Linked DNA regions of Homo sapiens: regions 2, 3, 4, 5 and 6 are each linked to region 1. The links are contacts of gene promoters, found by promoter capture Hi-C in blood cells and fetal thymus (Javierre and others, 2016). All regions are on one chromosome and are shown on one strand. Each heading gives the region's core, a stretch centred on a gene start or on the middle of the fragment in contact. The rest is flanking DNA. Distances are from core to core; before and after follow the strand shown. Region 1 holds the start of PCF11 (PCF11 cleavage and polyadenylation factor subunit). Region 2 holds the start of DYNC2H1 (dynein cytoplasmic 2 heavy chain 1). Region 3 holds the start of DCUN1D5 (defective in cullin neddylation 1 domain containing 5). Region 4 holds the start of ENDOD1 (endonuclease domain containing 1). Region 5 overlaps MED17 (mediator complex subunit 17). Region 6 holds the start of TAF1D (TATA-box binding protein associated factor, RNA polymerase I subunit D).

The links. Contacts are between HindIII fragments. The CHiCAGO score rates a contact against its expected background, and 5 or more counts as called.
Region 2: the fragment with the promoter of DYNC2H1 here is called in contact with the fragment with the promoter of PCF11 in region 1 in 3 of 17 cell types (fetal thymus, non-activated CD4 T cells and naive CD8 T cells); the score reaches 11.3 in fetal thymus.
Region 3: a contact is called between a fragment that was not itself captured here and the fragment with the promoter of PCF11 in region 1, in 1 of 17 cell types (fetal thymus). The highest score is 5.9, in fetal thymus.
Region 4: the fragment with the promoter of ENDOD1 here is called in contact with the fragment with the promoter of PCF11 in region 1 in 1 of 17 cell types (non-activated CD4 T cells); the score reaches 5.5 in non-activated CD4 T cells.
Region 5: a fragment that was not itself captured here is called in contact with the fragment with the promoter of PCF11 in region 1 in 1 of 17 cell types (fetal thymus); the score reaches 10.5 in fetal thymus.
Region 6: the fragment with the promoter of TAF1D here is called in contact with the fragment with the promoter of PCF11 in region 1 in 2 of 17 cell types (activated CD4 T cells and monocytes); the score reaches 7.1 in activated CD4 T cells.

What each region holds. Positions count from the first base shown.
Region 1 is chr11:83,154,809-83,159,575 of GRCh38, reverse strand. PCF11 (PCF11 cleavage and polyadenylation factor subunit) reads right to left here and starts at 2,445. Exons shown (of 16, transcript NM_001346413.3): 1 at 1,945-2,445. The coding sequence starts at 2,136. RefSeq lists silencers at 1,280-1,339, 2,790-2,869 and enhancers at 2,140-2,389, 1,686-2,475, 2,540-2,589. The HindIII fragment of the contact is 1,033 bases long and covers 2,363-3,395 here.
Region 2 is chr11:103,107,201-103,111,967 of GRCh38, reverse strand. DYNC2H1 (dynein cytoplasmic 2 heavy chain 1) reads right to left here and starts at 2,542. Exons shown (of 89, transcript NM_001377.3): 1 at 2,199-2,542. The coding sequence starts at 2,393. RefSeq lists enhancers at 2,710-2,759, 2,830-2,949. The HindIII fragment of the contact is 957 bases long and covers 2,011-2,967 here.
Region 3 is chr11:103,088,450-103,093,216 of GRCh38, reverse strand. DCUN1D5 (defective in cullin neddylation 1 domain containing 5) reads left to right here and starts at 1,057. Exons shown (of 8, transcript NM_032299.4): 1 at 1,057-1,430; 2 at 3,899-3,990. The coding sequence starts at 1,345. RefSeq lists enhancers at 603-652, 723-772, 702-1,319, 1,320-1,937 and a silencer at 1,463-1,757. The HindIII fragment of the contact is 1,980 bases long and covers 1,458-3,437 here.
Region 4 is chr11:95,087,081-95,091,847 of GRCh38, reverse strand. ENDOD1 (endonuclease domain containing 1) reads right to left here and starts at 2,002. Exons shown (of 2, transcript NM_015036.3): 1 at 1,621-2,002. The coding sequence starts at 1,920. RefSeq lists a silencer at 1,751-2,180 and enhancers at 2,191-2,250, 2,321-2,600. The HindIII fragment of the contact is 8,670 bases long and covers 1,055-4,767 here.
Region 5 is chr11:93,785,438-93,790,204 of GRCh38, reverse strand. MED17 (mediator complex subunit 17) reads right to left here. Exons shown (of 12, transcript NM_004268.5): 2 at 2,038-2,204. Among named protein-coding and RNA genes, the nearest start is that of MED17, 3.5 kb to the right of the region's middle. RefSeq lists an enhancer at 3,139-3,638. The HindIII fragment of the contact is 4,008 bases long and covers 914-4,767 here.
Region 6 is chr11:93,739,508-93,744,274 of GRCh38, reverse strand. It overlaps TAF1D (TATA-box binding protein associated factor, RNA polymerase I subunit D), which reads left to right and starts at 2,780. Exons shown (of 6, transcript NM_024116.4): 1 at 2,780-2,953. It overlaps C11orf54 (chromosome 11 open reading frame 54), which reads right to left and starts at 2,603. Exons shown (of 9, transcript NM_001286069.2): 1 at 2,547-2,603. RefSeq lists enhancers at 851-1,390, 1,911-2,030, 1,797-2,482, 2,611-3,120. The HindIII fragment of the contact is 24,379 bases long and covers 1-4,767 here.

The DNA.
Region 1 (4,767 bases), core at 1,196-3,695:
AGAGCTCATCTATTTTCATCACTGTGTAGCGATATACAAACACAAGTTTTATGTGGTCACTATATTCAGCATTTAGTTTTCGGTTCTCGAAGGTCTTCCGGATCCATTAAAAACCAGCAAGGTTCTTTGAGTGACAACCTGAGCTGCTAAATATTAGGCGCTGTGGAATATTAAATCCCAAGATACGAGGTAATTAGATTTTAAAAATCAATGTTTTTGCCTTAAAAACACAAGTGCTTTAAGGCATTTAATGTCAAGTTAAGCCTTCAACAAGGCAAAAACTAAGTTTTCATGTCCAAGATGTTTGTGGTATCAATAAAAAGCATGTTGAGTATGACGAATGCTTCCTTTTTAAATCTCACACTTAAAAAAAAAAGCTGTTTTACATACACTTTCACAGGAAAAAGTGAACGAAAACTTGTATCTTAGCTGTCAGACTGAGCATGATAAACTTGTTGAGGTCCTTAAAAGGAAAAAGAAAAAAAACCCTTCCTTTTCGTCCTCTTTAAATTATGAAAGGACCACCTGAAACCGTGTATCTTGTGAAGAGGTTTACCCAAAAGAGTGGATGGAACCTAAAGAAGAATGAACCCAAGTCACTTAAAGACTTTTGTTTAAAACACACAACCACGTAGATAAAAATAAGTCTTGGAAACAGATTCTACACCTTACAAAGGTAAATAAAAAAGACAAATACATATTTTATATGTTTTATTCACAAATTTTATAATACCAGTCACACATTTCAAAACCATTTATTAGAGTCAGACCACTCAAGTTTTACACTAGACAGAAACCGTCTCTAAACAATATATTGGTGGTTGTTGTTAAAGTGGCCTTTAAAAAGGGGTTCACTCTGCTAAAAGGAGGCTCATCCTGATAATTGCAATCACTAACAACTAGAAAAAACTAAACCGTGAGTACAAGCTTGAAAAATAAAATGTAGCACTGGGACGCTATTAAAACTCATTGTAACTAAGTTGAACAGTAACTTTACTTAAATGACATATCGCTCCCATATGAATCCACAGAAGAGGAGGACTACAGGGAAATATAAGGTGGCAGAGGACCACTTCTGTCAAGGGGTAAAGAAAAACACTCCTTCGCTATCAGGGAAGGGAGAAAAAGAGAAAAGGAAGAGGAGGAGGGACTGAACTTTTCAGAGAAACTGCAAGTACTTGTTACCCTCTGGGCCAGTTCTCCACCTACAGGTTGGATAAGATCTCCTCCCCCCACCCAAACCCCACCCTCAACCCCACTTGCCCCTATTTTGGGACAAATTAGACCCTCCAATAGGAGAATAAAAGTTTTATCTAGCCGCCCCCACCCCAAAATGGGGCTGACGGGAGTGAGCAGCTGCCTGGCTGGCAGGGAATGGATTCTCCTCTCTTCCCTTTCGCATCATGTGCTTTTCAGGCGCCATGTTGGGCTCCTAACAGGCGGCTGCTCCACTCGGGGCCAAATCCCTATTCCCACCCACCAACAGCTCGCTCCCAGGTCCCCCTTCACCTCCTTCCAACCCACAGAACACAATTACCAAAAAGGGTGCTTGGGGAAAATGGGAGACCCACTCTCCCACTTCCCAGGGAATTAAAATGGCTTATGTTAACTCTTACTTCCCCAAACCACAAACTGCCTTTAAGTCTCCCCCACCCCAAAGGGCTCTATTCAAAGCGTGTGTGTGTCGGGATATACAATGCGGTGGCCTAAAAAGGGAGTTGGAAAGCGGAAGTGGGACTCCACCCTTTATCCTCCCCACTCCCTCCCCCCCAGAGGCCCATGCTCGAAGCCTGGGCCAAAGACCGAGCCTGAGTTGGAGGGGGGTGGGGGGGTTGGAGAGAAGGAACACTGTCCCCCTTGGGATGGAAGCGAGACCTGGGATGAGGCTGACACTAAAATCAGGGAGTATTAGAAGTAATAGGAGGCTGCGGGGTGTATAAAAACCTTGGCGGTTTGGGCCTCGATGAGAGAGACGATCTCCTTGGCGAAGGGCAGGTTCTCCTCGGCTAGAATGGTCAGCATATTGATGTGCGGCTTGCTATTGAAGGTCAGGTCTTCGAGCGATGACTGATAATCCCGACAGGCGTCCTCCCGGGCCCCCGCAGCACCGGCCTCGGCCGGCGTCTGCTCTGACATTGCGCCGCGGCCCCCCTCCGAGGTCCGCTGCAGCTGAAGCTGAAGCCGCTCTGGATACCCCGCCTCCCTTCCGACTCCTCTTCCTCTCCCCGGCTCTCTCGCGGCTCCGGCTTCACCACATGCTGACCGCGGAGGGGGGATGGGGGACGACACAGGGGGAACCTCGGGTATGAAACGCCGCCGTCTCGCGGGTGATCTCCGTCCACTTCCAGCCGCCACAGAAGCTTCTTTCTCCACAGACACAAAATGGCGGCGGCAGTGGCGGCTCCAGCTCCGAAAATGTCTGTGTTCCCAACCGCTGCGTCGTGCGAAATGAACTAGGGGAGGGGAAATGTGCGGTAAAAGGGCGGGGCCACTGATAAAACCAGGCGTGATTGGCTGTCCCGGCAACGTCACGAGCCCCGCCCCCGGCCCTTCCGCAGGACGCCCTGGCACCGCCTTCTTCTCCGGCCTCTACCCGGACTTTCGCAACATCTACTGCTCGGAGGCGCACTGGAAAAGACGGCCCTTCTCATTGGCCGATTCATAAGGGACTGTTCGGTCATTTGTTACCATAACAACCCATTCAGGGAAGCCAATAGGCCTGGGAAGGCAGTTCCCGCGGCCCAACCCAACCACTTTGAGAAGAAGACTCAGCCGTCCCCTCTTCGTCCCTCCCTCTAGCTTCCCAGCCACTGAGCGGGCCTGTCAATCATCTTTCCTCCCGCCTGCCCCGTAGCTGCTACCGACGGTGGGGGTTGGAGGGAGCGGGGGTTGGAGGGAGCGGAGGCTTTCTGCCGCCGCACCCCCTCTCCCTTAGCGTCTCAGGTGCTCTGGAGAGCCAGGGCGGGTCCAGCTGCCCCTCTGGGAACTGGGAAGTGGGAGGGAGGTGCCCAATTTACCCGGAACTTCGGAAAGCACTGCTGGAGAGTTTCTTCCAGCACGCCGCTTCCCACACCCACAAAAATACCTAGGCGAGCTTGCCTGACTTGAATCCCCAGGAAAATGCCTTTTATTTAGAGATTAAGTGTGAAAGGCTTTTTCCTTGGGGGTTTGGAGGAGCTCTTTAAGGAGCCCACTATGAGCTCTAGGAAGAGTTTTTCACAACAGCCACACCCAGCTGGACCGTAATATCTCCACTGTGAATCTGCATTTCAGAACCTCCTTAGCATACACTATTTGGGGCACGTAGGAAAACACACACGCGCATGCACTTTTGTTTTAAACTTGTGGGGCTGTCTTCCCAGGTTGGAAATGATGCTCGTAAAACACACAAAGCTTTCAAATAGTTCACCGTGGAGCTGCGACATAACACAAACCAAACGTAATTTTTTCATTGAGTAGCGATATTGACCTAAATATAAGCTTTTAAAATGTGTCAATTACGGGCTGGGCGCGGTGGCTCACGCCTGTAATCCCAGCACTTTGGGAGGCCGAGGCGGGCGGATCACGAGATCAAGAGATCGAGACCACCCTGGCCAACATGGTGAAACCCCGTCTCTACTAAAAATACAAAAATTAGCTGGGCGTGGTGGCGTGCGCCTATAGTAGTCCCAGCTACTCGGGAGGCAGAGGCAGGAGAACCGCTTGAACCCGGGAGGTGGAGGTTGCAGTGAGCCGAGATCACGCCACTGTACTCCAGGCTGGTGACAGCGAGAGTCTGTCTCAAAAAAAAAAAAGTGTCAATTACCTAAAATTGCTTTTCCATTGCCTTCCGTAGGCTACTAGGCATTTGAGAGATAATTTGTTGCTCCCCAGAAGAAATTGCTCTTAAAAAATAAACTTAGCCGGGCATGGTGGCGGCCGCCTGTAATTCCAGCTACTTGGGAGGCTAAGGCAGGATCACTTGAACTCGGGAGGCAGAGGTTGCAGTGAGCCGAGATCGCAACACCGCACTCCAGCCTGGGCGACAGAGTGAAACTCTCTCTCAAAAAACAAACAAACAAACAAACTACTCTTTACTTGTCCCATATAAAGTAACATTTTCATTTCTTCTTTTTGTTTCTTTGAGTTTTTTAGCATCTTTATTGTTGTCTAATTGAAACATAATGAACTGCATAAAGTGTGCTGCAAAGGTTAAGTTTTGACATGTATTTTCCATTTTTTTCTTAGCATGATATCACACATGAATGAAAAGTAAAACCTGGGGAGGAAAACTGGTCTTCCCTCATTTGAAGCTAAGAAGTATTGTTAAATAAGTATTTATAATCTCAATAATTTCACACTATTGTTAGTGGTGCTATTTAGATATACTAGAAAGTTTCAACTAATAACGTCCAAAGGTTTTATTTTCTGGAGGGAAATGACCAGGGTGAAATAGTCCTCTGTTCATTTTCTTTTCATTTTAAAGGTGAATTTCATTATAGAAATGTCTGCCTTTTACAGTTTTTAACTTTCTTTTAACAGCAAAGTGAACTTCTAAAAAAAAAAAAAAAAAGGCTCCAAAGCTCTGATTTGGCTTTTATTGTATCCCTCACAGACTATATACAGAGTAAACAATTAATATATCTTAGCACATAAATCAACAAACTTATGTCCCCACAAATGACATGGAAAACTCAAGAGACTAGCAATCTTATTCAAATCATGTGCTGTACTGTAACAAGCACATTTTTTCTTTAAATACTCAGGACAGGGCACAAACTAGATAAC
Region 2 (4,767 bases), core at 1,293-3,792, about 20 Mb before region 1:
CATGCGTTTAGCCTACCTTTGTCCATTCCAATGTTACTCCTTTAAGATACGGACTCTGTGTTCATGGCTTTGTCCCCAGTACTAGTAGGTAGGCAATAAATATTTGCTGACTTATTAACTTATTGAATCACGCTAACTATCAGGCAACTAAAGTACAACTGAAGACATAACAAAATATTTTCAAATATGACTAAAAACCTGTAGCGAAGTGTACAACTAAAAATAACAGATACATCGTTGGGCTTTACTAGTAATAGCTTTAACTTAAAAAAAAAAAGTTCTACCTTCAACTTTCAAATACCCAAGCCAAGATACACTTTCACGAATCCAAACCCCTTTCCATCTTTCCTACTGCATTCTATCCGAACTTTCAGTGGCATTTACAACAGTGTGTCCTGATTTTATCATTTGCTGAGTATATGTCATCCTAAGCCACTGGAGTGAGTCTAGGAAAGGCAGAAAGCAGGGGGCTCTATCCTGAACTACGCTACCTATTGGAGAAAAAGAAAAGTTAACATTTAGGTTGTAAATTTTGTCCCTTACTTTCCTCAGCCATAAAATAAGAAAAAGAATAGTTCCTATCTTACAATGTCGTTATGGCTATTAAATGAACGAATACATATAAAGTACTTAGAACAGTGCTTGACAGAGTCTAAAGTGAAAATAAATGTTAGCTATGATTATCCATCCTTTTTATATCTTTGTAAACCCATCATGCCTGGCAAAGTGCCTTGCATGTACTGAGTTCAAAGTAAATGTTTATTAAATACAATCGAATTAAACCTAAGAATAAAGATAGTGAATAGGGTGAATGATTCAATCATCCTATAAAAATGCACTGAAGCCAGGCACGGTGGCACACACCTGTAATCCCAGCACTTTGGGAGGCCAAGGCGGGTGGATCACCTGAGGTCAGGAGTTCGAGACCAGCCTGACCAACATGGTGAAACCCCATTTCTACTAATTGCAAAAAATTAGCTGGGTGTGGTGGCACATGCCCTGTAATCCCAGCTACTTGGGAGGCTGTGGCAGGAGAATCGCTTGAACCCGGGAGGCAGAGGTTGCAGTGAGCCAAGATTGTGCCATTGCACTCCAGCCTGGGTAATACGAGCGAAACTGCGAACTGCGTCTAAAAAAAAAAAAAAAGGCACTGAATGTTTTTGCTGAGTGTCAAAAACTCTGCTAGACCTAGGGATAAGGGTGAACACCAAAGGAAGAGGTTTAAAATATGTCTTTGTTTTATTAACTTAAATCTATTTACTGAGTCCCCTTTAATGTGTCAGGCAATTTTCTTCTGTGTTTTTCTTTTAGGCTTATATATATAAGCCCTGATTGCAAATGCAACCCATTTTTTAAGCAATCCTGCCAGTGGAGGGAGCAGTGCAATTAATAAATCAGTATATCACATGATGTACACCAAAAAAGAATTCAAACTTTATTTTGAAATATATCATTTCACAAAAATTTAAATTCCTAACTAATCTTTCCCTTGGGCAATGTTAAAATCAGAGCCTGATCCAAAAAAGATAGACTAGAATTTGCCTTCCCCCCAAAAAAAAAACTCAAAAAGGGGAGAGAAAAAAATAAAAATAACTAAGTAAATGTTTTCTTTTTAGTTATAACGTATCTGCAGTCTTTCTTAAAAAGTAGAATATAGGCCGGGCGCGGTGGCTCATGCTTGCAATCCCAGCACTTTGGGAGGCCGGATCACTTGAGGTCAGGAGATGGAGACCCACATGGCCAACGTGGTGAAACCCCCGTCTCTACTGAAAATACAAAAATTAGCCAGGCGTGGCGGCGCGCGCCTGCTACTCGGGAGGCTGAGGCACGAGAATCGCTTGAACTCAGGAGGTGGAGGACGCAGTGAGCAGAGATCGCGCCACTACACTCCATCCAGCCTAAGCGACAGAACGAAACTCCGTATAAAAATTTAAAATAAAACACAATCTAATTGCTTCTATTCAGATGTATGGAAGGGAAACATGCTTCGGTCAGGTAGGATGCAAAGCTTGGAAACTACCTGCTTAAGCACGAGGCCAACGCATCTAAGCCAATAATGCAGGAGAAGTGGAGACAGCCTTGGGTTCCTGAAAAGGATCTGGTTGGTAAAGCTAAAGAGTGTGACCCGACGTCCCTCTGGCTGGGCCTGGGGACTTGAAGAGTGGTCAGGGGTCAGGCAGGAGTGCAAGGAACCGTACCGTGTTGGAAAAGGAGATTCCTGCGTCGGATCGCTGCACCCTGAGGAGCATCTGGTTGCCGTCATCCAAGAAGTTGTTGATTTCAAGACAGTTGCACAACAGTGGCTGATCCCAGAGTTCAGACATCAACCCGAAGTAATTCTGGGTAGTAGTGAAGATGAAGAGCTTCCGAACGTCCGCAGTCCCGTTCGCCATGATTGGAAGGGGTGGAGGGAAGTTGGGGGAAGGGGGAAGGAAGAAGAAACCAGTCCGGAGGGAAGTGAAGGGAAGAGAGGAGCTTTGCTCAAACCCGTAGCCCGACCGCGGGACCGCAGAGCTTCGCGGTTGCCAGGGGTAGTCGCTATGGCGACGGAGCACTACGGCGGCGTCGCTGGCGGCGCGCGGTGGGCGTTGCCCTCTCGGGGCACGCGCACGCAAAGCTCGCGGAGGCTATCGACCGCCTCGGAGCTCTTCAGCGGCTCCCTGCGGTCATCGATTGTAAGGGGTTCGGACAAGTTTATGTTGGCTCTCAAACATGTCTTTTATTCTTCTTACTGATTTCTTATCACGCATAATCAGAAGAGAGACATCTAGCCTTCAAGTACAGCAGCGTGATCTAGATTTAGGAGAGCTGGGTTCCAGTGCTCGCTCTCCACGTGCACCTGGTAGCAAACCAGTCTGTCAGCGTCAAGGTACACATCTGTTAAGAAGGGGAAATACTATCTCACAACCAGGGGTGTAGTGCGGATTGTAAAAGATTACTATTTAAAAATCGCTTTTTAGAGAAGCTTATAAAGACTAGGAATTCAATACAATGTTAATTTACTTTCTCAGTCGCCCTCTGCTCCTTTCTGTGCTGCTGCATTTCCCAACATCGTTTTTTCTATTATTAATTTTAGAATAATTTAACCAGCAATTTTTTATTGCAATCATTACCCGAGCACAACCATATTTGTAAAATAGCTAAAATGTAAAATGATACTTTTTAGTTTATTTTATAACAACCGCAACCAAATTCTGTGAAAATACAGATATGAAAACGGTCTTTGTCATTTTCTACTTCATGGCATTACTATAAACTACTAAATTGCTGGTCATTCATCCGAACATTCGTCAAACACTTTCTCAATTCAGTAATTCTCTTCTAAAAATATTTACTACATGCTATTAGGTTGGTGCAAACGTAATTGCGGTTTTTTGGCAAGAACTGTAATTACTTTTGCACCAATCTAACACAATTTGCCAAGTACCGAACTAGGCCCTGGGGACACAGTTCCTGCCCTCAGGAAGTTTTTGCTGTAGTCATTCATCACCTCAGCACTGGTTTGACCCAAGATCCTAGGGTACACAAACATATGCAGATTTTTTTTGTTTGCACTTAATAATCATAACCTCCCCTTAAAACTATACTATTTGAGAATTGGAAGGAGAGAGTCCTTTTATTTGCTGAGCAACTTAAGATTTTGGAGTGGGAACTTAAAAAAGCTGAACTGCTCTAAATTATAAAAGGAAATGAATGTAAATTCTCATGAAATATCCAAACAGTGAGAGATGGGAGTCTGGCCACTGGATGGGAAAACATCCAAACAGTGAGGTGGGATGCTGACCACTGGGTGAGGGAAAAAATCCTAACAGGAACCCAAGATGACTGTGTAGCTAATAAAAAGATTTTGAAAGCCAAAGTGACCACTATGGTTACAGAGTTTCCTGCTCTGCAATGAGCATTATCACTCTTACCAAGGTCTTCAGGAAAGTCTCCATTACCCACAAGTGCTCGGTTTGGTGAGTTGTTTTGGTGGAAATGTATGAAATGGCTGAATTGAGCTTCCATAACAATATGGTAAATAAAAAGGCAACACATGTAGGAAGATGAGTCTAGAAAGCAGATGAGATCATGAGTATGTGATCCTCCCAAGAATTTTTAGAACTCTTCAGGAAACTTAGGGCTTCCACAAACTATGAAATTGTGTTTGAATCAAGTTTAACACCGATCTCAAACATGGAAGCTCCCGTTGACATGTAAACCCCATGAAATAGAAGTTTTGTGTTTCCTTTTCACTACTATATACGAAAAATGAGGCACAGAGTGGGAAGAAAAGACAGATACGGACTTTATGTATTGTATCAAGCATACAATAAAGAAGAAAGAACCTCACAGATTAAATAACTTACACAAAAACACAGAGATGGTAAGTGGTAGAACCAAGATTCCTACCAAAATCCAATTCTGAGCCAATCTCTATATACCATATCACAGTGTTAGCCAGATATCCACCAAAATCTATTTTTCCCTTCCATAGCTAAGAAGTGGCTACCATCCAGGTGTGGTCATGTGACTAATTCTCACCAATAAAATGTGAGAAGAAGTAATGTGTGCGTCTTCAAGGCAAAGTTTTAAAGAAGTGAGAATACCTTAACTTTTGCCAGCTGGTTGCAGATAACAATAAAGCAACAGGGATGGCAAAACTTTCCAAGAGTAGGACCCTAGGATCCTGAATCACAGAGTGGAATAATGTCTGCAGTTGTTAAATAAGCAAGAAATAAGCTTTGTTGTGTTTGAGGCATTGTACATTAAACTGTGTGGGCTATT
Region 3 (4,767 bases), core at 1,198-3,697, about 20 Mb before region 1:
ACATAAGTGAAAATTCCAGGGCATATCATGGATTTTGGGCTCATATCATATAATCACATCCTGGTTTTTCTATTTTTCTGCTTGATACTAGTCTCTTCTGAGTTTTGGCTTCATTCTCCATACCTTCTCTGGTTCAAATCCATAGGAAATAAAATTGCTTTCTGGTGGTTCAATTTTGTGTCATTGGCACTCATTGGCCTGGCCTGAGTATGTGTCCATCCTGAACCAATTAATAACACTAAGGAAATATGATATTCGGATTGACCAGATTAGGGTGCCATTGTGAGGGTAGTTTCACAGGAACCACTTCAACTATTACTCAAAGACTTTTAGTCTTCTCCCATCACAGTTGGTTTGCAGAGATTATTTTACCAACAGAATTACTAACGACTTTCTACTATGTCTTTACATACAATAACCATTATTTAAAAACAGTATTTCCACCTAAGTGGAGATGAATAGATTACAGTGTGTTTTGGGTCTAGGGGGAGGTTCCTTAGAACTGTCCCCCAAATTTCTCTCTACTGAGTCGCAGTCACCTACTGTCTCTTATCGGAGAGGTGAGCTCTGTGGAAATAATGGCAGAGCTAAGTTTCAATACAGGACAAAGTGATATGCAAAGGTAGGGAGAAGGGGGAGTGGGTGGCTGATCACAGGCCCATAAAAAAAACACGCAAGACACAGGGTGACAATGCATTTACGGGGTGGGAACACTTCAGGTGAGGTTATCGTGTGGAAGAGCTCAGAAGTGGAACTTGGTCTACTTTACCAGGTTGTTTTTAACGTCAACTGCAAAGTATTAGTAGTTTCACTTTTTGGCGGTGACTGCCAGCATCAGAGCGCGGTAGAAGCTTCATGAGAAAGGTCAGGATACCCTGGACAGGATACAAGAATTCCGCGGACTGCCGCAGTCGACGGGTCAGACAGCTTCGCTCTGCCTGGCCTACCTACGAGTGGCAGAGGCTAACCGGAACCACGCCCCTTCCCGGGACCGGCTCCGCGATTGCGTCACTTCCGGGCCTCAGCGATTCGCCTCCGGGTTAGGCTGAGCCTCTTGCTTGCTGTGACTGGTGGAGCTGCCGCGCTGTCCGCGTTATCTCCTCCCGGTGAGAACGAACCGCAGTGTCCACCGGCGAGGAGCCAGCCCTGTCCCGGTCAGAGAAAGACGACGAGGATACCTGGGAGCGGGCGGCGGCCGGGCTGGGCCGCGCCGGTGCGGGCTGGCGACTCTGCTCCTCCGCTTGCTGCTGTCTCTGGGAACTGGGTGCCAGCGCTGAGGGGCTTCCAGCGGACAGGGACCCCCTTCCCCGGCTCCCCTGCCCACCCTGCCGGGGAGGGCGGAAGATGCCGGTGAAGAAGAAGAGAAAATCCCCTGGGGTGGCAGCAGCAGTAGCGGAAGACGGAGGCCTCAAAAAGTGTAAAATCTCCAGGTACCATCTCCCCCCACCCTTCAAGCTTCCCTCCTCCCTCCTTTGCTGGACAACTGGAGGAAAAGGAGTCGGGCCCGGCCTGCCGGGCTGGGGCTGGAGACAGGTGAGGCCCCTTTGATCGAGCTAGGCTGTAGGTGCCGAACACCGCGAGTCTCCGCGCCCGACCCGACCTCGTGTTCGAGTGTGTGCACGCTGGCGTTTATGGAGAGACTAGAAGAGCCGCCCACGTTAAGAGTCTACGTGCCCTGCAGGGTGGGGAACAGATGCATATGTAAATTGCGCTTCCCCCCACCCCCACCCCCACCCCACAACCGACCCTCGATCCCCTACTCCCGTATCGCTCCTCTGCCTTTTTCTAGACTTAGAAGTGAGTACATATCCGCAGAAGGGTCACTTCTAGAATTTCTTTGTAGAGTGTGAAGAAAGCAGAACATAAGGAATCTTGACAACTGTCTTGGGAATGGTAGAAAGGAAAACTTGTATGCTATAATTGGCCTCCATATTTAGTATTTGGAGTGGCCTAACCCGGAAGGTCCCAGCAGGAGGCCTTTTAAATTGCAGGAGCCCCATTTTCTGGAAGTATAGTGCCTCACCTATGCCAAGTCCCTGTGTGCAGAGTTGGAAAGGCCCTGCATGCTTTTTGTCTTCTAGCATTCAGGACGCTGTTAGCTCTCAGCATAAATTAAATAATTTGTGAGCTCTTGTACTCTGTCCTACTGGTAAGAAAGAAGACAAGGCAGAACTATATAGTAGTAGCTCTTTGATCCCCTTGTAGCATATCATGGAGGCATCACAGCAAAATTTATGCTACAAAAAAACTGCAATTTTGGTTTGAGAAATGGTTTTTTTGTTTTTTTGTTTTGTTTTGTTTTTCTGAGACGGAGTCTTCCACTGTTGTCCAGGCTGGAGTGCAGTGGCGCGATCTCCGCTTACTGCAACCTCCGCCTCCCGGGTTCAAGCGATTCTCCTGCCTCAGCCTCCTGAGTAGCTGGGATTATAGGCGCCCGCCACCACGCCCTGCTAATTTTTTGTATTTTTAGTAGAGACGGGGTTTCACTATGTTGACTAGGCTGGTCTTGAACTCCTGACCTCGCGATCCGCCCGCCTCGGCCTCCCAAAGTGCTGGGATTACAGGAGTGAGCCACCTCGCCCGACTGAGAAATGCTTTTTTAAAAAATAACCATATTAGCTGCCTTTTCATCAATGGTTGGCACTTGATATGACAACTTCAGATGCTACTATTGAAAGGAGACTGTAGCCAGGATTATAAGAAGGAAATAATGATAGAGCTCTCCTTAAAGAGAGATCTGCTTAAACTGTGAGGTAGATGACTTACATAGTCTGCATCTTCTTTTTTGTAATTGGTCGACTTTTTTCCCTCATTACTGTGTTTTGGTAAAGGAGTCTATGGAGTATTAGGCTATTAATGTGAACGATGATACATACACCTCTTGTTTGTCAACATTAGAATTTGACATGGTTACTTTAGTAGCTCACATTTTTATAAGATACAGGCAAATTATTATTCATTTTTGTACTATATCATGGCCATCTTAAGTATATAATGTATTAAAATTATTTAAGTTAAGTACATTAAGATAGCTGAGCAGGCAGTATTATTAGAACTCAGGTGATACTTTGCTCTATCAATTTAAATTTTTAAATATGATACTCTTACTTTACTCAGTTACAGAAGTTCTATCATTTCTATATCATTGTGGTAGGGTAATTATTTGAGTTCCTTGAAAAAAGTTTCTCTGAAGGCCATTAAATTCTAGAGGCCATTTTGAACTTACCAAATTTTAGTTATTTTATGAAAAACAATGAAAATGATTTTATGAAAAAAATGAAATAGAATGAACAGAACCTAGGATTAAATAGCCTTGTCCCAATTATTTGGACTATTATTAACTTTTAGTGTTTTTTTGTTGTTTTTTTTAAATCTGTGTAATTTAATATACCCTTAGGTCCTAAGTCATCATTTATCTTTAAAAATCTATTTAAGCTTAGGTGATAAAACAACTCTTAATATAACATTTTATTTTGAAATATTGATTCATTAAGTATCAAAATATACTTTGTAAGAGTTTGTTTTCAAATATTTATCTATTACACACAAATAGAATTTCTATGCAAATCAATAGAATCATAATAAATATTTATACTTTCCCACCTACTAGGTTGAACTTCTTTGTAGTCTTTTAAAATGTGCGGAAATAACTTACTGATATTTTTGGATTTTGATACTGAGTGAAAAGGTATTTGGGTTTTGTTAGCCGATAATTCTTATGTATAGACTACTGTTTCAAGTTGCAATTACTTAACAACTTCAGTTTTTTTCCAACAATGCCAACCGAAGAAAAAAAAAACCTTTGTTTAATGTGAATGGAAGTTGTTAATTTTGAACTTAGTTTTTCTCTAAGAGTTGAGATGTGATAAAAATCTTAGGCGTCTGTGTGTTTTCTAAGCTATTGCAGATCCCAACCCCCTGCTAGACTAATAAGTGGAGAGGAACATTTTTCAAGCAAGAAGTGCCTGGCTTGGTTTTATGAATATGCAGGTAATGAAATTAATATAAGAAGATACTAGTCATATGCTTTAAAAAGTTTATTTGCCTTATTCATTTAACAAATTATCTGTTACAGGCCTGCTATGTGTTAGTGCTGTGTACTGGGATGAGGGTCAGGACTGAAGATTGTGGGTAGACTAAAAATTTGTTGCCAATTTAGGCTGATATTTCTTTAAATATATATTCGGTATATATTTACTGGGAGGGAAGAACTCATTTACTATTAATAAAACGTGTAAACAAAGATTCATTTATTTACATCTATTGGCTAAAGTAGTATTCTGGAAAATAAAAGGTACACAATAAAACATTTTTGTATTTGATATTGTGGAAAACACAAAGTACATAATAAAACATTTCTATTCAATATTCTCTTTTTGAAATTTTTCTGAACTAACATTTTCTGAAACTTTTGGGGAGACATAGTAAAAGATTTAAACCCCTCAGTTATAATTGTACAACACATTTACTTTTTAACAATTATCATTTAGCCATCCACTTCTACTAGAGATGCAATAGTAAGAAAATAAATAGACTGATATTAATACAGTGTGATAAATACTATATTCAGAAGATACACTGTGAGAGTTCATAGGAGGGATATATAACCCAGCTTTTAAAGTGTCATGGGAGTTTTCTAGAGGAGCTAACTTAACCTCAGCTAAATCTTGTAACTGGTGGATGAAGAGCCCTAGGCCCAGGATGGGGTTGTGTTTTAGAGGCGAAAGTCAAAGCCAGCCAGAGATGGGGCTGAAGAGTTAAGCAAAT
Region 4 (4,767 bases), core at 753-3,252, about 12 Mb before region 1:
CCCACATAGCATGGCTCTAATCAGATACTACACCACCTCTCCACCCAGCAAACTCCACCTGCAGATCAGGTAGCCTTTGTTCCAGAACTGCACTCAGATCTCTTGGTCCCAAATATCTGGCACACAGCAGGAGTCACTAAATGTGTTCTGAATTTAACTGAAATTTGTTTAGCATCCATTCCCATGATTTCCTCAGACGTATGTTCTGTCTCCCCAAGCTGTCCATGAGATCAAGGGGAAAGAACTAGCTCATTTGTTTTCTTCGCAGGCACACAATCACAATGCAAGATGAGAGGTGGGGAACACCCTGTGAGCTCTAGGGGTGCAGCTGGTGGAAAACTAATTTTGGATTTAAATGTGTCTTGTGTGTGCAACTGACAACGTCTTTTTCACATGCCTGATCTCGACAAGTGTTATCAACAGTTGAGGTAGGTGGAAGGATGTGAGGAAGATAAGAAAACTAGGTGCAGATTGTTTGAGACCTGGCCAAGACCTCAGAGCTAGAAATATCTGAATGAGATTACAACCCACAGGCTCTGAATAAAGCACCTGAAAGCCAGCCTCCTGTCCACTGGTGTGGTCCTGGGCAGCTGTGGCCGTCAGGAAAGGGAGAGCGTTGGGTCAGTTCTTCCCCCAGCAGCCTGGGCAGGGGTGGGAGGCTGGTGAGAGGGCAAAGGGGAGTCTGGCAGGGTGTTCTAGAGAGGAGGCCAACTGAGGAGAGGTATTAAGAGCAGGCCAGCAGGTTCGGAAGACTCTGAGGGCTTCTCAAGTGTTTGGTCACCTTTACCAGACGGGACAGAACACCATGAGAGGTGACACGATTTCCTAGTGGTATGATAATATAGATATGAGGAGTCAGGAAAAACTGGCTTATCTTTCCATCAGTTGGAGGTAGTCAATGTTTCCCTATCATTTTTAACTACCCCATTGCGTTTCTAAAAATCTGTATCTTTATTTCATTGTTCTAATTCAACACAACCGCAGATCGAATTTACTCAACGCCGTGGTAGAGGAAGGATTTTCAGGCTAGGATGAGCTCTGCAGAAGAGAAGCTTTACTTAGTAGAAAAGGCAGTGAATTTCTAGACAGAGACCTGCCCCATCTTACTAACTGGGTAGTCTTCCATATGTCTCTTCACCCCCTGGGTTTATCTCCTCTTCTGTAAAATGGGGATGAAAATGCCCACCTACCCACCTCCAAATGAGTGCTATGGCAATAAGTTGCACGAAGGCCTGTGAGCGCCCAGCCTAGGCTTTCTGCGGATCTGAACGGTCTCCAGGGTCTCTGTATCAAGCTCTTCACCATTCAGGAATGAAACACTGCGGATGTCTGCTCAGAAATGCAGGGAGAACCTCCTCCCACAGGGGACCTCCCGCCCTGCAGCTCATGAAGTGAAGGCTCGCAGATCGCCAGGCTCTTATTGTAGCTCGACAGGGGCGAGGCAGGCTAACTCCGGGGACGCAACAGGGTGGACCTGGAACCCGGGTTTCTTGGCCCAAGGCACCGAAGGCGTAGGGATTGCTGTTCCCGGCCCGCCCCTCGCGGTAGCTGCAACTGGGGGCATGTCCAGCGGCACGGTCTCCGGCGCCCGCAGCCCGGCTCGGGAACCACTTCGCTTACCTGCGGCTCCACCAGCCATCGCTGCTCGGCGCCGCCGGGCGCAGGGCGCGGGGCGCGGAACGCGGAGTACACGGGGATGCGGTCCCGGGTGCTGTAGAGGGTGGCGAAGCGCTCAGCACCCTCCGCGCGCTGACAGATCTTCACGTGGGAATCGGCCGCCAGCCCCGCAGGCGGGGTCCCGGCGTAGAAGAACTTGTCACATTCGCCAAAGCCGGCTTCCTCCTCGCCCACGAGCCGGCCTTCCAGCAGCCCAGCCAGGGCGAAGAGGCTGCCCAGCGCGAGCCAGCGCGCGGTGCCCATGGCGGCCTCTGCGAGCGCGGCGGGGCCGAGCGGCTGGGCTGCCGCGGCGCGAGCTCTGCAGGCTGGGCGGGGAGCGCACTACGCAGCCGAGCAGGGTAGGGAAGGGAAGTCGCAACCTAGGCGCGGCGCTCTGCGGAGCCGGGCGGGGCGGCCCGGGCGGCGGGGGCGGGTCCGCGTCGGGAGGCCGCGCCTCCCTCCCTGAAGATGGCTGCAGAGGCCCAGGGCCGCGCTCCGCGATGCTGACAACGTACCCTGGGCTGCGCCCGGGACTGGAGACGCGGGTCACCTGCCTCCGCGCCGCCTGGTCTCAGCAGTCCGGGGGACGCGCGCTACCAAGAGTGGAGAATCCGAGTGGGGCGGGCCTAGTCCCGGGGCTGGGAAGAGATAGTCGCATGGACTGGGCGCCAAGAAGCCTGCTGATCGCGCGCGCCCCACGGCCGCCCTGGTGATGCAGAGGGGTGGCGTGAGATGCTCGTGGAGCTGCGGCTGGTTCGGAGTGGATGGGCAGAGTTCCCCTCTGAAATTTCATGAAGATGCGTCTCCCACTCTCCACCGAAGTACTCAACGACCAGCACACGCATACAATTTTGATGGAGTTTTTTGTTTTTTGTTATGTTTTTTTAGCTCACCAGAAACTCAGAGAGTAAAGAAATACTGTTAAAGGAAGTTCCTAAACTAGGCAGACAGTATAACCCTGTGTGGTTTTCTTGGTGCAAGTGTTAGAAACAAAACCGATACCAAGCAAGGAAGGAGGCCAGCCAACGTCATTGGTCAACAGGTTGGCCAATTCTTTCCTTCATTTATCCCTCTGAATGCCTAGGTGCCAGCCTGAGATAGGCACTGGATTACCACAGGGGTAAACAAGAGCAGGGCTCCTGCGGTCACAAAGACAGCCTAGTGGGAAAGTTTGTCATTAACCGAGGAAACATGCTATTAAAGGGATAACTAAAAACTGAACACAGATCTGTGAGACCCTGACAGCTACAGGGGTTCAGGATGTAATCCGGGAAGGTTTGCCTGAAGAAGTGGCATCTGAGCTGAGACCTGGAGGATGACATTAACTAGGCAAGGAGGAAAACCATGTGCTAAGTGGTCTCCCACAGAAGGGAACATGATGTATTGGAGGAATTTAAGGAAGGCTAGTGTGGGTAAAGCGCGGAGAACCGCGTGGGGGATGATGGGAAGTGGGGCTAAAGGAGGAGGCAGGGGTCATATTACTCAGGTTATTATAGGCCAGAGGCCTTCAAACACTTTTTGAGAAGGCCCATAATGAGAAAAGTTTGATGAAATAATTCTTATGCTTATGATTGGCATTGCAATTTCATATTTCTGTTCTACTTCACTTTTTTAAAAAAGTGCTGGTGTTGACCCACTAAATTGTTTCTATGAGCCACTAATGGCTCATGACCTGCAGTTTGGAAAAAATATTGTAAATCATGTTGAGGATTTTCATCTTTTAAAGGTGGTGACTCGATTCTTTTTGCTATCAGGGAAGAGACTGGTAGATTGAAGTGGCACAGAATAAATGGGTGGCTCACACCTGTAACCCCAGCACTTTGGGAGGCTGAGGCAGGCGGATCACCTGAGGTCGGGAGTTTGAGACCAGCCTGGCCAACTTGGTGAAACCCGTCTCTACTAAAAACACAAAAAAATTAGCTGGGTGTGGTGGCGGGCACCTGTAATCCCAGCTGCTTGGGAGGCTGAGGCAGGAGAATCGCTTGAACCCAGGAGGCGGAGGTTGCAGTGAGCCAAAATTGTGCCACTGCATTCCAGCCTGGGCAACAGAGCCAGACTTTGTCTCAAAAAAGAAAAGGAAAAGAAAAGAAAAACACCCCATAATTGCCACAATCCAGATAAGAGATGGTAGCTTGGACCAGGATGGTAGGATGGTGGCAGCAGAGATAGGGTCAAGGCAGCTACCCAGGGCCAGGGCCTGTGCTCATCTTACGATGTCATCTGTTTCCCCAGTGTGCCACTACAGGGACTGAGACCAGAGCCTGTTGATTCTGGCCTAAGCTGGCACAGCCAGTGAGTCCTAAGACAGATTTGAAACAGGTCTCTCTGCTTCCCAAGCCTGGCCTTTTCTTTTAACTCACAGCGCATCTGTAAGGTGAGCCCATAAAGAAGGAAGCTCTTCAAGAGATTATACATTGGAACTTAAGAACAAATTTCTTACAGGTTTTAATTCCGGAAAATGTTGACTATGTTTGGTCCCAGAAATGAAACCAAAGTTTGTATCTTAGTTTTTTTAAAAAAAGGAGGGGACACATTTAGTGTGATGTCACAGAAGAGGCTAGACTTGAAGTCCCCTTTGATCTGGATGATGACCCTGATCATCTGGTACTAGTATCTCAGTCATCTCATCCTTGTAGGCTTCAATCAAGTCCTCCCACAGGGACAATGCTGCTCCTGGGATGCTGGGAGGATTATAGGTTTTACAGGATTTTAAAAATATTTACATTATTTTATAAGGTTGAATATAGGGTTCCCCAATGTTGACTTATGATGTCTACCATAAAGATATATAAACACAGTTGAACAACTAGAAATCCATCCCTCTCTTCTCTGAGTTCTTTAAACATTTATCTGTTATGATACTTATCATGGTAGAGTGTTAATAGTCCCTGTATCTGTCTTCTTTATTAAATCATGTGCTCCTAGGGACAAAGGTGGTTGGTGGATCCCAGTGGCTACCACAAAATCTGGAGTGATTAGATGCCAAATATGATTATGTTGTATTTTAACAAATGCAGAAAGTATAATACAATCATCATTGGCCTTTATGACTAAAGTATTTATAAGACTTTAATTCACTTTCTCAAAATTTCTTGATGCCTGCCCGCCACC
Region 5 (4,767 bases), core at 1,668-4,167, about 11 Mb before region 1:
GATTAACATCTATAATCTCTGCTTCAATGGTAACCTGCATGATGGCAGAAATCACTATATCCACAAACCCTAGAACAATGCCTGGCACATAATATTTGATTTAATGAATGAATGAATGACTGCAATGGGTATAACTGTAAAATTATCTTGTATTTTGTAGCTTACCATATTTTGCATCTTACCATAAGCTATTAAAGTGCTTTTGGAATTAGGACTAAAATCACACAGCATTAACTTTTTTTCTTTTGAGATGGAGTCTTGTTCTGTCACCCAGTCTAGAATGCAGTACCACCATCTTGGCTCACCATAGCCTTGACCTACTGGCTCAAGTGATCCTCCTGCTTCAGCTTCTTGAGAAGCTGGGACTCCAGATGTGCAACACCAAGCCTGGCTTTTTTTTTTTTTTTTGGTAGAGACAGGGTCTTGCTATGTTGCCTGGGAAAGTCTCAAACTCCTGGCTTCCTGCTTTGGTTCCCCAAAGTGTTGGAATTACAGGCATAAGCCACCGTGCCCTGCCATTGTTAATATTAAATGTACTTCACTGAATCCTAATTTTTTGGAAAACTGATCAGAAGTCACTATCTATGTATCACATATGCATATATAAATATCCACAATCACCATAATTTGTGTATTTTACTAACCAGTTTAATACAGTTTTCTGGCTGTATGAGAGTCAAAAATCACATAAAAAGCTTCATAAACATATCAAAATAATCTTTTGATTGTATTAGGGAACGTAAATAAAAGAGTTCCTGGAGATATTAAGAAATTCCTGGAGACTCCCTTCTGGGAAAAGCACAGAATAGTAGAAAAGGCAGTGGGGCTATGAGTTAGGTGCTGGAGTTCTAGTCTTGGCTCCCTAACTACTGGCTTGACAGCAACTTGAACATATTACAAATCTCTTTAAGCTTTAGTTTTCTCTCTATAAAATGAAGAATGCAGATTTAGGGAACTCTATTAGTCCCCCAGCACAATGTTTCTAGATTCTGAAACTATTACTATGTGAGTAATTCTATTCAATTAATTTTATTTACAAATGGGTTCTAACAGTCATTACTTCTTCTCCATGACTAATTTGGTTATGGTCTTGACACTTGTTTTCCTTAAGGACCCAAGTAGCCTCAATGATTTCAGACTATTCACCAACTCATCTTCCTGCTACTTCTCTTTCATCTTCAAATGTTCAAAAATTGAATACACTGTTTATGAAATAGCAGCAATTCTACCCAGCTCTCAATATGCTCCATAATTTCGCCTAACTTTTCTAATCCATCCCTTAAAAAAAAAGGGAAGGAAGGATTAGATGGAAAAACAGGGACTTAAGAGAAAATAACTTGCTTAATTTAAGGTCACACAGTTAATGAAGGCAGAGGCAGGATTCGAATCCAGGTCTACCTGATTCCAAAGCCATTATATCATCACATTTTTGTGTAATATATCACAGACCAAGGACCCAGGCTATAAGAATTTGTTAAGATTTGGTAACCTTTAAAGTATTACATTCTTTTTTTTTTTTTTTTTGGGATGGAATCTCGCTCTGTCGCCCAGGCTGGAGTGCAGTGGCGCGATCTCAGCTCACTGCAACCCCCGCCTCCCAGGCTCAAGCAATTCTCCTGCCTCAGCCTTCTGAGTAGCTGGGACTACAGGTGCCCACCACCACGCCTGGCTTATTTTTGTTATTTTTAATAGAGACAAGGTTTCACAGCATTAGCCAGGATGGTCTCGATCTCCTGACCTCGTGATCTGCCCGCCTTGGCCTCCCAAAGTGCTGGGATTACAGGCGTGAGCCACCACGCCTGGCCTTAAAGGTATTACATTCTTAATGAAACTTAACTCTTCCAAGGATCATAGGTATATAATAAAAAAATAAAGGAAATGCAGTTGTATGGCTTTGTTTTAGACCAGTTAGTCTTTAAATCTTCATCTGGACTTAATTTTGCAAGAAAGGAAAATGGAACAACAGGCACAAAGCCAAAAAAGGGTCCTGGGATTTAATAAATAAAATTTTATTATTCAATTAAAGTCCACAAATACCTGTTTTGGAGGAAGTGCATCCTGAGAGACAGGATCAAGAGTCATAAATTTTTTATCCCTAACAATACTGAGAACATCATAGAGAACACACATCTCTGTCAGGGCACTTCTCAAATTGTTCCTCACTGAGTCCCAAGGCCAAAGGGAAGGCTGAAATTTTACCACTCCTAAAAAGAGAGAGAGAAAAAAAAGAAATACAGAAGTATTCGTTACATTGAATGGCAGACAGCTCACTTAGGTTTAAAAAGTACTAAAAGGAGAAATAATTAATTAAATTTCAAATTGTTCTCTTATTTATGCCATCTCCTCTACCGTTTCTTAAAACTTTGTTAACATTCACATTAGCATTCCTACAATCGCAAAATGAATATGACATCTATTTCCACAGGTTAAATTTATCATTACAACATTATAGACTCAAATCTCTTTTCAAATTTATGTAAACCTTTTTAATAATCTTCTTACAGTGTTTAGAACTTGAATTTACAATTGTACAAAATTTCCAAAATACAGAAAAGTACAAAATGAAAATGACCTGTAAGCCAGCCACTATTAGCATATCTTCCTTTTAACCATTAAAAAAAGTATTGTGATTAAATACATGAACATTCACTATATAGAGTTCACACAATAAAGAATTAGAGGGTAAAAAGTGAAAGTTTTCCTTCATTCCCCACCCGATTCTCTCCCCTCCTGAGAGGTAACCACTATTAACAGATGGAGCGTAGCCTTTCTTTTCTTTTTTTTTTCTTTTTGAGACAAAGTCTTGCTCTGTCACCCAGGCTGGAGTGCAGTAGCGCGATCTCAGCTCACTGCAAGCTCCACCTCCCGGATTCATGCCATTCTCCTGCCTCAGCCTCCCCAGTAGCTGGGACTACAAGCACCCACCACCACGCCCAGCTAATTTTTTGTATTTTTAGTAGAGACGGGGTTTCACCATGTTAGTCAGGATGGTCTTGATCTCCTGACCTCGTGATCTGCCTGCCCCGGCCTCCGAAAGTGCTGGGATTACAGACGTGAGCCACTGCGCCCGGCCCCAGTGAGTGTACCCTTTCAAAGGTTTTTCTATGCACTTACATACATCTATTTCCAATTTTCTATTACTTGCCTTTCCCCCGCCCCCACTTAATATTTCCTAGAGACACTTCCATGTTAGTACTTATGAGTCTACTTAATTCTTCTAACACTGTATGATATTCTGGAACATGGATGTACGGTATGTTTAACCACTTGTATTTAACGGACATGTAGATTGCTTCCAACAAGTAAACTGCTTCCAACAATGCTAGCAGTGGTAAACATCTTGAATATATACCCTGTATATGTGCAACTTTTTCTGCAGGTTAAATTTTTAGTCGTGGTAATAGTGAATCAAAGGAGATATACATTTAAAAGTTTCGGCTGGGTGCAGTGGCTCAGGCCTGTAATCCCAGCACTTTGGGAGGCCGAGGCAGGGTGGATCACCTGACATCAGGTATTTAAGACCAGCCTGGCCAACATGGTGAAACTCTATCTCTACTAAAAATACAAAAATTAGCCAGGCATGGTGCCGCACGCCTACAGTCCCACATACTAGGGAAGCTGAAGTGGGAGAATCGTTTTGAATCCAGGAGGCAGGGGTTGCAGTGAGCCGAGATTGCACCACTGCACTCCAGCCTGGCCGACAGAGCAAGACTCCATCTCAAAAAAAAAAACAAAACAAACCAAAAAAAGTTAAAATTAAATGTTGGCACATATTAAACTGCCAAATTGTCTTTCAGAATCACTACCAGTTCACATTCCTAACCCTGAATATTAACAATCTTTTCAATTTCTGTCAATTTTGTGCATGGAAAGAGTATCTTAATCATGTTTTAATTTCCCAGTCCCTAGTAATGAGATTGAGTCTATGTTCTGTTTATTGGTATCTGAAGTCTCTCCTCTATGAGCCTTCAGATACCTTTGGCCTATTTTTCCAAAGTGTCATTATTTTCTTTTCAGTCTGAAGGGACTTTTTGAATAGAGAAGATATCAACTAAATTTGTGTTATATGTGTAGAACTTCTCCCAGTCTGTCATTTATCTTTTTACTTTGCTTATGGCATCTTTTCCCATTATTTTTAAATTTTATGTAAGTAATATATCTATACTTTGTAAGGTAGGTAGGTGTGTGGTTGTGTGTGTGGATGTTAGAGTCTTGTTCTGTTACCCAGGCTGGAGTGCGGTGGCACAATCATAGCTCACTGCAGCCTTGATCTCACTGGCTGAATCCATCCTCCTCCCTCAGCCTCCCCAGTAGCTGGGACCACAGACGTGCACCACCACGCCCAGCTAATTTTTTTAATTTGTAGAGGCAGGAGCTCCCTATGTTGCTCAGGCTGGTCTTGAAGTCTGGGCTCAAGTGATCCTTCCACCTTGGCCTCCAAAAATGTTGGAACTACAGGTGTGAGCCACCATGCCTGTCCTGTTATTTCCGAAATTAAGAAGATCTATCCGACTCCCAGAATAATACAACTATTCTTTCATTATTTCTTCTAACACTTTGTTTTACTTTCTTCATTTGGCACTTCAATCCTCAAAAATTACTGTGGAAATAATTTTTGTGTGAGGTATAAAGTAGTATTTACCTTTTTTTGCAAATAGACCCCTAATAATCCTAACAGCACTGCCCTGAAATGACATCTTTAAATTCCCATTTACACTGGGTGTGCTGCATAACTAAATTAAGAATTTTGATTTTTTTTTCAAAAAT
Region 6 (4,767 bases), core at 1,531-4,030, about 11 Mb before region 1:
AGAAATGTACTTATTAGGGGTACTTATTAGGGATTAGTGGATAAGTGCTTAAATGGTTGTGGATAACAGTGCATATAGGACTCTCAAGTATTTCTATAACAGACACTTGTGCGTTCTACTCTATATTTGACATTTAGACAAAAAAATCAAATGAGTTCCTTAGACTATCACTTTTTCATAATAAAATTTAAATTATGAAGGCCCGTCCAATTCTAAAATGATGTGAACTTCAGGCAGGCTGATGGCACAGCAGGCAGTGTGGTAGCATGTGTATGTGAGTGTTTATGTGTGTGTTGGAGGTGGGGAGAGGGTTACAGTTGGAGCTGAGAAAGGAGTTAGGTTCTCACATAAACTCCAGGAATACAGCCTTGGGCCAGATGGAGGCAAACAGTATTTTCCTGCCTAATTGGTGGGAGTCGATGGCCCAGAAATAGGGTCTAGAAGGGAAACGGAGCTGCAGAGGTTAACACCTGGAGGGGTAGACCAACTATCGCAACTAAACTGGTTACCATTTGAGTGCACACTATATACCAGACACCGTTAGACACTGTGCAGACGTTCTCTCAAAACTTTTCACAACCATGACAGGTTGTAAGACAGGCTGTGGGTCTTCAGGGGTCGCGGGCATCCCCTAGACACAGCCGCAGGGCCTGCATGGAGTTCGCTCCTACCGGCGACCAAAAGCGCTCGCTCCGGCTCCAGCATCTGCTCACCCCCACGCACCCTCCCATAAAGGGTGGAGCGCAGCAGGCCTGGGTGACTGGAGTTCGTGGCTTCCAGCACTCCAGTTCCCGCCTCATTCACTCGCGCCCCCCCTCCCGCGAGGAGTTGAGAGCCGTGGGCTAAGTAAGTGAGGCACCGCAGCCGCAAGACCCACGAAGGGGTCAGAGGAATATCCTGCTTCAACTGCACTCCAGCCTGGGTGGCAGAGCAAGACCCTGTCTCTATAACACAAACAGAGAAATACCAAATGTGGCCGGGCGCGGTGATTCACGCCTGTACTCCCAGCACTTTGGGAGGCCGAGGCAGACGGATCACTTGAGGTCAAGAGTTCGAGACCTGCCTGGCCAACATGGTGAAACCTGGTCTCTACTAAAAGTACAAAAATTAGCCGGTTGTGGTGGCGGGCGCGTGTAGTCCCAGCTACTTGGGAAGCTGAGGTGGGTGGATCTCTTGAGCCCGGGAGGTGGGGGTTGCAGTGAGCTGAGATCGGGCCACACTGCACTCCAGCCTGGGCGACAGAGCGAGACTCTGTTTCTAAAAAAAAAAAGAAAAAAGAAAAAATACAAAATGAAATGTGAAATTTCAATGATTCTGCATTAGGAGTTAAATGTTCCTTCCCTTTAATAGCACTTTTCCCCTTCTTTTTGAACAAGGGACGCTGCATTTTCATTTTGCATTGAGCCTCACAAATTACACAGCTAGGCTTGCTGCTGAATACGGCAGTGAGGGACATGCCATACCAGTCCTGGAGCTTCGTCATTGCCCAGACCCTGTGGATCAAATGCAGTGGGCTGCCTAAAGGATCGGACTTTTTATCCCCGGAATTGTCCAAACTATGGAGCAAAGCAGGTAAAGAGACCAGATTACTTTTAAGGCCCGTTCAATCCTAAAATGTGAACTATAAAATAAGACTAGACAGCTTTACTGATTTTTGTGGTTTATCATATGAAAACAGAATTTTGAAAGCGGAAAAATCAAACCAGTTCATTCCTTTTTAAAATTACTTTGGGAGGCCGAGGCGGGAGGATCACCTGAGGTCGGGAGTTTGAGACCAGCCTGACCAACATGGAGAAACCCCCGCCTCTACTAAAAATGCAAAAATTAGCTGGGCATGGTGGCGCACGCCTGTAATCTCAGCTACTGGGGAGACTGAGGCAGGAGAATCGCTTGAACCCGGGAAGCAGATGTTGCGGTGAGCCAAGATCGCACCGTTGCACTCCAGCCTGGGCAACAAGAGCGAAACTCGGTCTCAAAAAAAAAAAAATTACTTTGGGAGAAAAAAACCCCACCAAAACTAAACTAGTTTACACTGTTTAATCTTAACTCAGGAACCGGTCAAGGAACTAATGGTGTGGGGCAGGGGGGATGTAGGAGGAAACTTAGGAAAAACAAATCCTCCACAGGTCTCACTTGTGACATGTTAGCCAACTCCTGGGAGGCAGAAAGGGTGAGCTTACGAAACAGGTGCAAAAGTGGGGAGGAGACCTGGGCGTGCTATGGAATAACACTGGCGTCCAGCACAAAGGTTACACACTTCGAGTCATGGTCAAAGAATGAGCCTTCTCCAATATTTTAACACACAAGGGTTTCTGAAGGCAGAAATAGACAAAGGATTACAAAACACTCAGGCACACATCCCACCCGTCACCCTCGCCACACACCCGGGACCAGATTTAGAAAGCCAGGCGACAGCTCAGCAAACGCGAGACCACCGGAAACGAACCGGGCTGAGAGGCTGTTTCCTCACAGTTCTCATCCACTCACAAGTGACCGCACGTTTTGTTTTTGTTATTTGCCGAAATGTTCTTGGCTATTCCACTCACCTAAACGGTCACGGTAGCAAAACACCCAGAGTCCGGATCTTCGCCTAGGCCAACCCCGCCTCCTCAGAATACGCGAGCTAGAGCTCCGCCCACGTTAGTCAGTCCTCCCTGCGCGGCGAGAAAAATGGCGCCCCCACGTCGCGTCTCCTCCCACCGCTCGCCTTCTTCCCGGAAGCTAAGTTGTATCGCGAGATTTCGGCCTGACTATTACTTGGGCCACGGAAATAGCCAACCCTTTTCTTCCGCACGGTTGGAGGAGGTCGGCTGGTTATCGGGAGTTGGAGGGCTGAGGTCGGGAGGGTGGTGTGTACAGAGCTCTAGGACACCAGGCCAGTCGCGGGTTTTGGGCCGAGGCCTGGGTTACAAGCAGCAAGTGCGCGGTTGGGGCCACTGCGAGGCCGTTTTAGGTAGGTTGCTAAGAGGGCGAGGCCGTCCGGGCCTGGCGGGCGGGGGAGGCGTTGCATATCTGGGGTTTCCCGGGGCCCCTTCGTTGGTCCGGAGGATCGAGACTCCGAAGTCGGTCCGAGAGGGTGAAGGGATCACGGCCGCAGGCCACTCCGCGCCACGCGGCTGGTATGAGTCCCACACAAACGTGGTTGTAGTGTGGACGGGCTTCATTATATCTTGAGATGGAGGTGTTAAATCGTGTTGCGGACAAGTTTAACCTTATTACGTGATTTAAATGATTTAACCTTCGTATGTGAGGTACCCATTACTCGCGCCGGTTTTCTGCAGGTTAGGCGCTGCCGGGTGAGAGGCGCTGGTGGTCACAGCGTTAGCTCCGGGTAAAGCGCCGCTCTCTGCCCACGTGGCCTCTAAGAATTGCAGAATCCCCACGGAGGCATCGACACCCAAGTAGGAGTGTCTTCTAAACACTTCGAAAAAGTGATTATTGAGCTAGCTTTATTTTGATAATCCCTACTTTTAAAAAAAATTAACTACAGGTATACCGTTAAAGCATGGGGGCAAATTTTTGTTGAATTCCGTTTTTGAGCATTCGATATTTAATGACTTTGTAGAATCTTGTACTTAAAAAAACTAGTAAGACCTTGTACCAGGAAAATACCACAGGGGGCATTTAACAAATCTGAGCTCTTGGTGACCTTATCGTTTCATATTTTAAATATTTTGCTAGTTCATCCTAGGATTTATATGTAATGACTCATGTCAGGTCCCAAGAAGCTACAGAATGAGACAAGAGATTGACTAAGGCATGTACAATAATGAAATAAGTAGTTATCTTTAATTTTTGTTGCCATGCCTTTTTTTTTTTTTTTTTTTTTTTTTTTTTTTTTCCTGAGACAGGGTCTTGCTCTGTCGTCCAGGCTGGAGTGCAGTGGTGCAATCTCGGCTAACAGCAACCTCCACCGCGGCTTAAGCGATCCTCCCGAGTGGCTGGGAGCAAAGGCACGGGCCAACACACCTAGCCAGTATTTTAAGAATTTTTTGTAGAGACAAGGGTCTCCTTGTGTTGCTGAGGCTCACTACATACAAGCTCCACCTCCCAGGCTCAGGTATTCCACCTACCCCAGCCTCCTGACCACAGGCGCGCGCCACTATTCTGGCTAATTTCCGTATTTTTTGTAGAGACGGAGTTTCACCACGTTGCCCAGGTTGGTCTTGAGCTCCTGGGCTCAAGCGATCCGCCCGCCTCGACCTCCCAAAGTGCTGTGTTACACAGGCCTGAGCCACCCAGACCAACCTGTTTTTCTTTTTTCTTTTAGCTCACAAGAAGGAATCTTTTTCTTTTTTTTTTTTTTTTTTTTTGGTATGTTGTATACTCTCTACCATGGGGATGAAGACACAAGAATTATGATAGTTCATTGAAAAAGGTTGAGAATTCAGAACTTGTCAGTTTCCACCAATAATGGCAAAGATACAATATGACAAAGTTCAGTTGCTTAAATGAATCTAGGAATGAAGAATCTAGGAATTATAATGGAGAGGTGATTAGGAGTTTAAAATGGTTTATTGATTGGAGATCCTTTTCCTGGTTTATATAGGGCACACTTTGCTTTAGGAATTCCCCCTTTGATCTTGGAAAACGGCTTTTAATTGTACATTAATACTGTATTGGTAATTGTACGTTAAAATATGTGGCTAATGATAAAACTACATTTTTTACTTATATTGAAAGATGCTTTTGTTGGAAGGGACGGTACTTTTTTGGAATCTTGTTGCGTTGAATACATTTAGAGGGTAACAACTGAAAGAACCTGTG